4 separate regions of the Homo sapiens genome follow, and all the other regions are linked to region 3. The links are contacts of gene promoters, found by promoter capture Hi-C in human tissues and cell types (Jung and others, 2019). All regions are on one chromosome and are shown on one strand. The core of a region is centred on a gene start or on the middle of the fragment in contact, and the rest is flanking DNA. Distances in the headings are between cores, read along the strand shown. Region 1 overlaps RAD50 (RAD50 double strand break repair protein). Region 2 has its middle 11 kb from the start of IRF1. Region 3 holds the start of SHROOM1 (shroom family member 1). Region 4 overlaps CARINH (colitis associated IRF1 antisense regulator of intestinal homeostasis).

Region 1 (2,700 bases), core at 46-2,545, 260 kb before region 3:
TGTTTAATAGCCAAGACACTGGGGAAAATGGCTAGAAGGCATTTCAGAGATCTTCACAGCAGCCCCTCCCATTACAGGACACTACTCCCTGTGTTTCAGCCACTCCAGCTCCAGCCATGGCTAAAAGGGCCCCAGATATATCTTAAGCTGCTGCTCCAGAGGCTGCAAGCTGTAAGCCTTGGCAGCTTCCACATGGTGTTAAGCCTGGGGTTGCGCAGAGAACAAGAGTTGAGGCTTGGGAGCCTCCACCTAGATTTCAGGGGATGTATGGAAACGTCTGGATGTCCAGGCAGAAGTCTGCAGGACTTGTTGCAGGAGGGACCTGGTTGGGGTGATTGGATCATGGGGGTAGATTTCCCCCTTGCTGTTCTCATGATAGTGAGTAAATTCTCATGAGATCTGGTTGTTTAAAAATCTGTCACAATTCCCCCTTTACTCTTTTTCTTCTGCTCCAGCCATGTAAGATGTGCCAGCATCCCCTTTGCCTTCTGCCATGATTGTAAGTTTCCTGAGGTCTCCCCAGTCTTGCTTCCTGTATAGCATGTGGAACTGTGAGCCAATTAAACCTCCTTTCATTATAAGTTACCCAGTTTCAGGTTTTTTTTTTATAGCAGTGCAAGAATGTACTTATACAACCATAATCTTAATATATTGACTTAATCAATCCTCCTGTATGTAATCAATGTCTCATCGTTGCATCAGGGCCCTAGCACCTCATATGGGCTGACTCCATCCCTGTATGCCAGTCTTCCTTATCCTGCGTAGGCTCTTGACTCTTCATTCTGACTCCCTCATGGGATGCTTTTCCATTCTGTATACACTTTGACTTCTGGTGCTAGATCATGTCCTCATTCCCCGCCCTTCTCTGATACCAGGTGGCCTCTTGCAGGGATGCCCACTGTACTCTGACCTGAATCTCCCCAGATCTGTGTCACTGAGAGGGTCACTCTTCTCAGTCTGATACTTTATACCAGGTGGCTTCTTGCAAGAATGCCGTCTCTACTCTATGATCTGACTTCCCCCTAGCCGACTTAACCCTCAGGTGGGCCCCCTTCTCATCATTATCAGGCTCTGAATCCCCACACTATTCCCTGGCGTGGACACTCTGCTTCTGAGCTGGATCCCCCCTATTTGTGGATTCCTCTTTCATCCTGCTGGAACTCTGATACCATTGGACTCTTGAAACTCTGTCTATGCCAAGCTGTTTCCCCATGAGGGTACCCTTCTCAGCCTACTCAAGCTCATTTATTCCACTCTAGGCTGAGTTATAGGTGCCTTAACCTTCAGCTGGCATGAACACGCACCTTCTTCTGCCCCACCTAATGGTTTTACAACTAGATTGTTTGGAGAAAGAAGGGTTTTTCTTATTTTTTATTTTATTCTTTTTGATAGAAATTGTTCTGAAGTATAATACACATTTCTTTGTTTTAATAATTCAATCTAAATTACACTTCACTTTTGAAGTGACTCTTCTTCAATAAGAGTGTCAACAACAATGTAGTGATAGAAATGCTACAAGATAGCCCTTGCTTGAATTCTATTTACTAATTTGATGTTTGCCGGGTAGCTAGGTCCTCGAAAAGTAGATGCCATGGAGAAAGAGTATGTGTATTTGGCTTGCTACTCAGGAACACTGTAAACAAATTAATTTTTTGCTGCATAAATACATAGCTCCTTAGTTCAACTACTGTGGATTAAACCTTCAGCAGAATGCTCTCCTTATGATGAAATGACAGAGTCAAGTCTGGGCTTTCAAAGCTTTATACTGACCTCTGGCCACCTCCTCATTGAAATGTCTGTATCCTAAGAGGCTGTTTCTGAGTAGCCAGTTCAGCGACTTCTTCCTCTTTACCTCCATCCTCAACCCTTGTCCAGGCTGCCTTCCTATCTCTCCTCGATTATTCCCTGCTTCATGTCTTGTCTCAGTTCACTCTGTTCACCCTAAAGACAAAATAATTCTTCTAAAATGCATATCTACTTCATGCAATTCCCCTGGTTCAAACCATTTAGTGCCATCACCTTAAATCCAAAAGCCTTACCAAGTTTAGAAGGCTGTTAATTTCTGAAACATTTTAGGTTGATACTCTTCTTTTCCCTACTTTCTATGCCAAACATTCTGAAATTTCTGTAGTCACGTAGTGACTCAGATCTTCTCATCTGGTTAACTTCTACCCAGATTGGTAGAAGTTTCATTTAAACATTCACTTCCTTTAGACTACCTTCCCTGAGCTGTCCTAGATAGGTTAGATGCTCCTGCTTTGTACTCCCAGATTATCCTGTGCTTATGATGGTGTTTAGCACACCTTGTCTACATTTAACCTATCTTGCATGCTTCAAAGGAAAAAAAGTCTGTCAGTTTGAACCAAAACAACACATGAAACCTACAAAGTGCCTGTAAATATTTGTTGAATGATTAATTGAATTAGTATCAAAGTTAAATTCATGCCAAGAAGTCATTAAAAAGTCAGCAAAGGATCTTTAATGATTTTTTTTTTTTAAAGCAGAATCCAGTACTTGTGATTTGGGTTGCAACAAAATAATGAGTATCACACTTATACTCGCAAGATGAATAACTGTAACACTGGAAAAGTATGTGAAACAACTATTTTCAGGCATTGGACCACAGATAATGCAGGGCTATATTCTTTGAGAAAGGAGAAACATAAAAGGTGATTCTGCATTCATTCCAGCTTTCTACCT
Region 2 (2,700 bases), core at 1-2,500, 350 kb before region 3:
ATCTCCTTGGGTGAGGAATGGTGGGCTGGACGTCTGCCTCCCCTCTTTCATTCAGTCCCCATGTCCTTGCTCCATAGCCTCCAGTATCTCCCCAGCTGAAGTTTCACTCAGCAGACTCTGCAGGCTTGTGTCTTACCACTGAGCCAGCAGAGGTGGACTTCTGTAACTCCTTACCCTGAGAAAACCAGCATAAATGGGTCTCTTGAGAGCTGCCTGGAGCTAGGAAAACTATGCGGCCAGCCAGCTATACCCTTCTGAGGCCTTAGACTTGGCCCCACAAGGGAGCTCCGGATGATAAAGCCAAGCTCCACCCTGCCAAGTACTTTCACCCCTGGAAAAGGAGGGCACCAGCTTCCCCTTCTCCCACCCCAGGCCTCCTTCCTCTGTGACAGCCAGCAGAACTGGGGAAAGGTTAGTGCTGAGTTCTGATGAATTGGAAGATCAGTTGTGCCCAAGTTAAGGAACAGCATTACATCTGACAGAGACAAAAGCTTTCTATAGGGTCACTATATTAGCCCTGGGTGCTCCAACAGGACTGCCTGGAGGACATCTGTACCCCCTTTCCCCTCCAAGTATAAGGGCAGAGTTTTGGATCTGTACACAGTGTGAAAGATCAAGTGGTCCCAGAGAATGACAACCTGGCTGTTTCCCAGCCCCACCAACCAGGAGACATCACTCCTAGAGAAAAAAACTCCACTTCCCAGGGCTACCCCAGGATTTCAGTTCCCACTTTGGCAGGCCCCACTGGAGACTTCCAGAAAAATCAGAGAAAGCTCTTTCCTTTGGAGTTGTAATGGTCACAACACCCTGCACACAGTGCACTGAGAGATGTTGAAAGCTGACACACCAAGAAGGGATGGTTTGCCTATTAGCTTCTAGCTTTCTTCCTATTGCCAAGTGAGCTGAATGAATAAACCAGCCCAATGAAAGTGACCAGCCAGCTATACCCTTTTGGAGTTAAGGCAAGGAAACCCATGACTAACCACAAATGCCCGCAAATGTCTGTAAACTTGGCCCAACATGAGAAATCTAGCTGGTGTGGCTGAGCACCACTTTTGTCAGTTTACCCCAGTGGAAAGTGGTCCTTGATGACAGTTATCTCATCACAACCCCAGCAAAACAGATCTTTCAACAACCTCCTAGCTCCCTCAACCTAGAACTTCCACCATTAGTGCTTATACTGAAACTCTTGAGAATGACCCACAGAAGCACTGTCAGGTCCTTAGAATGATCTAATTATTAAGCACAAACTTGGTTCAGATCTTACTAATACTGCTCCGTTTCAGGCACTGTTTGGCTAATGACTCGGTAGTGTCAGCTGCCATCACCTTTAGGTGAGCTGTCAGACCTTATTTAGTTTCTTTTCCTAGGAAAAGGCTGAAGTCTTGGTAGGATGTGATGGGACAGCTCTCCATCCTGAAAGGTCTGGCTCTATCCCACACTACTCCAGGCTTGGTCCCTAGGACCCAGCTCCATTGTGATGGGGGCCAGGGGAGAGTTTTGAGGTCCCTCCCTGGAGATTCCAAGCAATTGCTACCAATCATTTAGGACTCCTGGGATCAGAGGGGATGGGGAAATTGAGGACTACATCTTGGTTGTGGAGATTGGAAGCTGATGGACATAATTCCTCTCTCTTTTTGGTAATTTACAAGCAATTAACTTTGCTTTTAGAACTTGAGAGATTTCCACAGCTGCCTAAGACTTCACATACTCACTGCCTACCCTCCATCAGGGATTAGATTGAAGGGCAGGAGAAAAAGAAGTCAGAGCTGCTGCTTGTTCTGGGTGGTATCACTTTCCTCCCGTCAGTCCACTCTACCTTGCTCTGCACCACCTGCCATCACCCACTAGGAGAACCCAGATGGAAGCCACAGGTGGCTAGCCACCTCAATCCAAATCTTAAAAAGGGCTGGTCCCTGAAGGAGCTGGAAAAGTCCATCCTGTCTATTCCTCTGTTCCCAGGTGAAGCTATTCTTGAGAAATCCAAGTGGAGCTTCCAAGTAGAACTTCTTTTTTTTTTTTTTTTTTGAGACAGAGTCTCGCTCTGTTGCCCAGGCTAGAGTGCAGTGGCGTGATCTCAGCTCACTGCAACCTCCACCTCCTGGGTTCAAGTGATTGGCCTGCCTCAGCCTCCCTAGTAGCTGGAATTACAGGCATGCACCACCACGCCTGGTTAGTTTTTTTTTAGTAGAGACAGGGTTTCACCATGTTGCCCAGCCTGGTTTTGAACTCCTGAACTCAGGCAATCCACCTGCCTCGGCCTCCCAAAGTGCCAAGATTACAAGTGTGAGCCACCGCGCTCGGCCCAAGGGGAGCTTCTGACAAGCAGGGCCTGGGATAGGGGCCTGTCCAGGCATCCACATATAGAATATTTACCCAGCAGGAGTCCCCCTGCCACTCACACAGCATCTCCAAGATCAGGGACCAGTACTTCCTGAGCTTGACAGAGAATGAATGTGTCAGACTGACCTCTGCCCATTTTGTAGTTTTCTCATCATTTTCTCACTCAGTCTTCCCTTTTCAAGGGCCCACACTCTTCCCGAGGGCTGGGCCTAGTGAGCGGGGTCACAGTACATATGGTTTCTGGGACTGAGAAGGTGGAAGATGTGTCCATAGAGCTTTTGTTTCCTAAGCAACGTATTACTGCCATGATTCCATTCCCTAGATGATGCTGGTGATGCAAGCTGGCTTCTCTTGGCC
Region 3 (2,700 bases), core at 184-2,683:
TCACCTGAATGAAGGAGCCAGAGAGGAAGGAGACGAAGATGAGATTGGCCTTCAAAGCTAGGGGTCTGGCAGGTGGAGGCACCAGTCTGAAAGGAGGAGCTGGGGCTGAGGAATTGTCAAGGGGGCCAGTGCTCCTTCAGTCTGGGCTTCATGGTGTCTGTGACAAGTCAGGCAGCAGTTGGGATGTGGCTCTGGAGTTCAGCAGGGGAGGGTAGACCAGGCAAGACCCAGGTTTTTAGTTAGAGGTTACTGGGGAAATAGCTGAAGACAGTTTCCGGTGGATAAAATCACACCAAGGCAATGGGAACAGATCCAAGTAAGGCGACCGAGGAGGCACAGGAGAACGGACAGCCTCAAATACAACGAATGATCAGGATTTACATCATACCTCCCTCAAGGCCACCTCACATCTGACCTCTCTGTGGAGGGGCTATCCAGGCCGCCCCTCCCAGCGGGTCTTCCCTCAGTACTGGGCTCACTGTGTAGGCGCTGTCTCCCTGTCAGACTGAGTTCCTGGGTACTGGACCACGTCTCAAAACCCAGTACCCGCAGCTGGGTCTGGCTAGGCGGACGTTCTGGGAAGTTCACCGGCTCTCCCTGTCCCCAGCGTCCCCCGTTCTCCCAGCCTGTCCGCGCTGACAGCGCACCCCACGCAGCATCCACGCTCCGAGTGTGCGACTGGTTTACGGGCTCATCGGTCGCTGCACCCCAGATGCAGAGTCTCTGGAGACCCGAGCTCCGTGCCATGCACAGGAAATGCAGGAAGCTGGCGACACCCGGGGAGAGGCGGCCGCGGGCGTGGACAGACCCGGTTACCTGGGGTTCAATCTCTGGGAGCCGAGGCACGGGAGGGAGAGAGGCGCAGGCCCCGGCGGCCGCAGGGGGCGGCAGAGACACGCGGAGCGGCTCGACAGCAGATGGCCGCAGCCCCGCGCAGTTCTGGGCCTTTCCCGTTGGGTTCACCGTCGGGGAAGGATCGCGCGCAGGGGACAGCGCGAGCCCGGGAGGGAAGGACCCGGCTTCTCCAGATGCTTGGCGACAAAGGGCAGGAGCGGAGGGTGGCGGAGTGAGACCGCGCTGCCCGCCGGCGCCACACGCGGCGCGCCCAGCCGCGCCCCTGAGCCGCGCCGCCAGCTTAGAGTGGGCCGCCTCTCCGCCCTGCAGCTCTGCAGCTGGGAGAGGCGCGCTGGGGTCCGACTCCACTGGCGCAACCTGACGCGGCGCCGAGCCAGACACGTCCCGGCCGAACGATGCCCGGGCTGCCCCGCGACCACCGCCTCGCCGCCCGCTCTTCACCCCCGTCCGCCCGCAGCCCCGCCGGCCTCCCGGGGGAAGCGGACCCAGCCGCCCGCTTCCCGCTCCCCCGCCCCCGCCGCGTACCTGAGGCTCCCGCCGAGACGCGCTCCTGGGCCGTCGCAGCCGCGCGGTGACATCAGAGCCCCGGGCTCTGACTCCGACCCCACCTCCAGGCTCCGGCCGCGGCCTCAGGGGAGGCGCCACGTCCGGCCGCGGGGGCGGGAGCCGCAGCCTCTTGGTAGCGTCCGCGCGCCGGCCCAGTCCCAGGTCTGAGGGTGGACAGTGCGTTCCCGCGCGGGCCACAGGCCTCTTGCCCCAGGCCGGAGAAACCTGAGCGAGGTGGTGGGAGGGCGACTACGGCGACCGCCCACCGGCCTCCAGCGCGTCCGTGATGCTCGGGGGCCGGGTCCCTCGGGGCCTGACACCTCCCTCGGTGGGGAGGTCCAGGGCGGGCCCTTAGGCGCCTGACGGCTACCCGCTTTCCCCCCCAAGCCCGGCCAAGAAAACAGAGCTGCCAGGGCCTCGTGCCTCCCACCTGTCCCGCTGAGTAACTCGGCCCTTGATCAACTCTACCCCCAGACCCCCATTTCCAAAACTCTTCCAGCTCTTTGACTCCCACCATGGGCTCTTGTCTCCTGTTCCCTGTCCCATTTCTTTCCATTTCTCCCACTACCCAGCATGGTCTGGGCCCTCCAGCCTGCTACCGGGGTGGGGGAGAGGGGGGCGGAGCACGGGGAAGCCCCTGGACTTGTGTGCACCTTAGCTGTCCTGAGTGTGTCCTTAGGGAGCTGGACATATGCATACCCACTAAGGCTGGACACTGGCGCTCGAGGCCCTCACCTTCCAGGATCTCCATTTTCCAAAGAACGCTCTGCCTGCACCTGCCACTGAGCTCTCCTTGCTGTGTCCTCAGGCTCCCCTGCCCCGACTTCCCAAACTCTGTCCTATGAATACCACTCTGCCAAGAAATGCTCCGTTCCTGAGAGGGGCTGGGGACCCTTTGATGAGCCTCTCCGGCTCTCAGGTCTCTGCCTTTGTCCTCCGCTGCCCTCCCGCTCCCACAGGATCAACAGGGCTGGGCTCAGGGGCTGTGTCCTCCCATGGTAGTATCCCTGGCAAATAAAGGTTTATTGGTGTTAATAACCAGGACTCTGAACTCTGGCCAAGAGTCAAGGTTGCCACTTCCTAGGGACACTGGGAGCCTGAGGAACTCTGTCTTCTTGGGTCTTCTTGGGTTCGGAGGCAGGAGACACCTGAGCCCGACTTCTGAGAGTGGTGCCCGCTGGGCCCTGCTCCTTCTTCAACACCATCTGGACTCAGGCACCAGCTTCAGCTGGAGCGCTAGGCTTTAAGACAGTGCCTAAGAACCTTTCGGCTTTGAAAGACTTTTGTTGTTTGTTTTGC
Region 4 (2,700 bases), core at 169-2,668, 400 kb before region 3:
TTTCTCCATCCTACTTTCTTAAATGAGGATGTGGTGACTATCACTCTAGCAACTACCACAAGACATGAGAATGAGAGCTGCACTTTAGGAATAGGGGCAGGATGAGCCAGAAGAAGCGTAGGTCCCTGGTGACACCTGAAGTCACCAAACCAGCCCTGAACTGATCATTTCTAGACCTTTTTTTTCAGTGAGAGAAAGAAAGAAAATCCCATCTTGCTTAAGCCACTATTGTTTTCTGTTTTATGTAACTGAACAAAATTCTAACCAATACAAAATAATGTTTATAATACACAATACCATAATCAATGCTGTTTTTCTTTTTCTTTCTTTTTTTAAGAGACAGGGCCTTGCTTTGTCAACCAGACTGGAGCGCAGTGGCACAATCATAGCTCACTGCAGCCTCGAACTCCTGGGCTCAAGCAATCCTTTTACCTCAGCCTCCAGAGTAGCTAGAACTACAAGTGTGCACCACCATACCTGGCTAACTTATTTTTTATAGAGATGGGATCTTGCTGTGTTACCCAAGCTGGCCTTGAACTCCTGGGCTCAAGCAATCCTCCCACCTTGGCCCCCTGAGTAGATGGGATTACAGGCACATACCACCATGCCCAGCTCCAGTGCTGTTTTTCTTTGGAGAGTGTATTTTTATTACTGATTACAAACTCATCTGTGTTTTTTGGGTTTTGTTGTTGTTGTTGTTTTGTTTTTTGCTTTTTTTTTTTATATGAAGTCTCACTCTGTCTCCTTGGCTGGAGTGCAGTGGTGCAATCTCAGCTCATTGCAAACTCTGCCTCCTCAATTCCAGCGATTCTCCTTCCTTAACCTCCTGAGTAGCTGGCATTACAGGCGCAAGCCTCCATGCCCAGCTAAATTTTTGTATTTTAGTAGAGACACGGTTTCACCATGTTGCCCAAGCTGGTCTCAAACTCCTGACCTCAAGTGATCCACCCATGCTGGCCTCTCAAAGTGCTGGGATTACAGGCATGAGCCACACCCAACCATATGTTTTTTATATATGAAGGACATGTCCTTTCTGTCAGTGTTGCTGTAAATATAATTCCTTGTTTTTGCTTGTCTTTTGATTTTGTTTATGAGTTCTGTTTTTAAAGTCTTGGTGTTTGTTTTTAATATGGCTAAAATTTCTTTAAAATGCTGTTTGCTCTTTTATCCAAAATTCTTCCCCCCTTAGATAAGTATTCACCAATATTTTTCTGGTTTTTCAATGACTTCACTGTTTACAATTAGCGTTTTAGTCCATTGGTGAGTACTGTTGGTAAGTTTTTAATCTTTTGTAGGTCATAAGTGTTTAGGCCTAAATACTCTCCTGAGTTCTAAAGCAGGAGCCAGCGTCACCTCTTGTTTATACACCCTGTCCTGGCCTGAGCCTCCTGAAGGCTGGCACATTCAGCACAGACCCCTCTCACTCCTACTTCCCACCCACCGCCCTTCTGTGGGTCACCTGCCCACTACTCAAGATAGCACTCTTGGCTTCTTCTGGAACTTCTGTCTTCACCACCCTGTGTTCGGCTCTATTCCAACTCATCTCTAATTTCTCTTTACCGAGACCAGGCCGCTGACAGCCCTCTCAACGATTCTAGGAGATTTTTGTTATTTCTTCTCTGGAAATACAATATAAAGAATTTTTATATGGTTTTCCAAGTAGATATGAAGCTTTTTAAATTAAAATTTTGTGTTCTGATAAGAGAAATGAACCATCTTCATCATTTTAAGAAGTAGAAAATATATTATAGAAAAGCACCAAAGAAAATAAAAACAACATAGAAAGTAAAAAGTGAAAGCCCTACCACCTTCAAGAGGTGACCTCTGTCAACAGTTGATATATCTCTTTCCAGACTTATTTATACAAACAAATGTGGATCTTTATAAATATACGTATGCACAGCTTTGTTCATGAAAATGGGAGCATGCTATATACTTTGTACAGCAACTGGCTTTTTTTTTTTTTTTTTTTTTGAGACAGAGTCTCACTCTGTTGCCCAGGCTGGAGTGCAGTGACACAATCTTGGCTCACTGCAACCTCCACCTCCCAGGTTCAAGCGATTCTCCAGCCTCAGCCTCCCAAGTAGCTGGGATTACAGGCACCCGCCACTACGCCCAACTAATTTTTGTATTTTTAGTAGAGACAAGGTTGCACCATGTTGGCCAGGCTGGTCTCAAACTCCTGACCTCAGGTGATCCACCCGCCTCAGTCTCCCAAAGTGCTGGGATTACAGGCGTGAGCCACCACTCCCGGCTAGCAACCGGCTTTTTACAAATAGCAGTCTATTGTGTATATTTCTCTATGACAGTACATAGAGACCTGCTGTCTTCTTTTTAAAGGCTGCTTGGTATGTATTCCACCACGTAGATGTACTGCTAGTTCATCTCCTCCCCTACAGATGACCACAAAGTTTTTCAATGTCCTGATAATATTTATAGGCCACTACATCCTCATTTTTATACTTTTATGCATTTGTGCTAGTGTTTCTATAAAATAGATTTCTACAATTGAGACTGTTGAGTTAAAGGGTATATACATAGTAAGTTGTATATACTTCCAGTTGCCCCTTGTTGAAACCTTGTACCAATCAGTGCAGTGTCCTTTTAAATGGTCTTTTCATTGCCTGTTGCTTCCCTGTCTCCCCACCCCCCGGCTCTTCACCCTAGTGCTAGAATTGCTTTTATGAAACTCAGATCTGA

What was found. The method cuts DNA at HindIII sites, captures the fragments that hold promoters and counts their contacts. A contact is called where the count stands out against the background at its distance.
Region 1: a contact is called between a fragment that was not itself captured here and the fragment with the promoter of SHROOM1 in region 3, in 2 of the 25 tissues and cell types used here (hippocampus and lymphoblastoid cells).
Region 2: a fragment that was not itself captured here is called in contact with the fragment with the promoter of SHROOM1 in region 3 in 1 of the 25 tissues and cell types used here (IMR-90 fibroblasts).
Region 4: a contact is called between a fragment that was not itself captured here and the fragment with the promoter of SHROOM1 in region 3, in 1 of the 25 tissues and cell types used here (heart right ventricle).

The regions. Positions count from the first base shown.
Region 1 is chr5:132,564,696-132,567,395 of GRCh38, forward strand. The region is part of intron 2 of RAD50 (RAD50 double strand break repair protein); the gene reads left to right. Among named protein-coding and RNA genes, the nearest start is that of RAD50, 9.1 kb to the left of the region's middle. The HindIII fragment of the contact is 5,353 bases long and covers 1-2,700 here.
Region 2 is chr5:132,478,447-132,481,146 of GRCh38, forward strand. No RefSeq gene overlaps it. Among named protein-coding and RNA genes, the nearest start is that of IRF1, 11 kb to the right of the region's middle. RefSeq lists enhancers at 826-875, 886-1,135. The HindIII fragment of the contact is 3,842 bases long and covers 1-2,700 here.
Region 3 is chr5:132,829,214-132,831,913 of GRCh38, forward strand. SHROOM1 (shroom family member 1) reads right to left here and starts at 1,434. Exons shown (of 10, transcript NM_001172700.2): 1 at 1,381-1,434. RefSeq lists silencers at 803-1,112, 1,323-1,742. The HindIII fragment of the contact is 17,651 bases long and covers 1-2,700 here.
Region 4 is chr5:132,431,826-132,434,525 of GRCh38, forward strand. All of the region lies in intron 2 of CARINH (colitis associated IRF1 antisense regulator of intestinal homeostasis), which reads left to right. Among named protein-coding and RNA genes, the nearest start is that of LINC02863, 6.5 kb to the left of the region's middle. The HindIII fragment of the contact is 9,906 bases long and covers 1-2,700 here.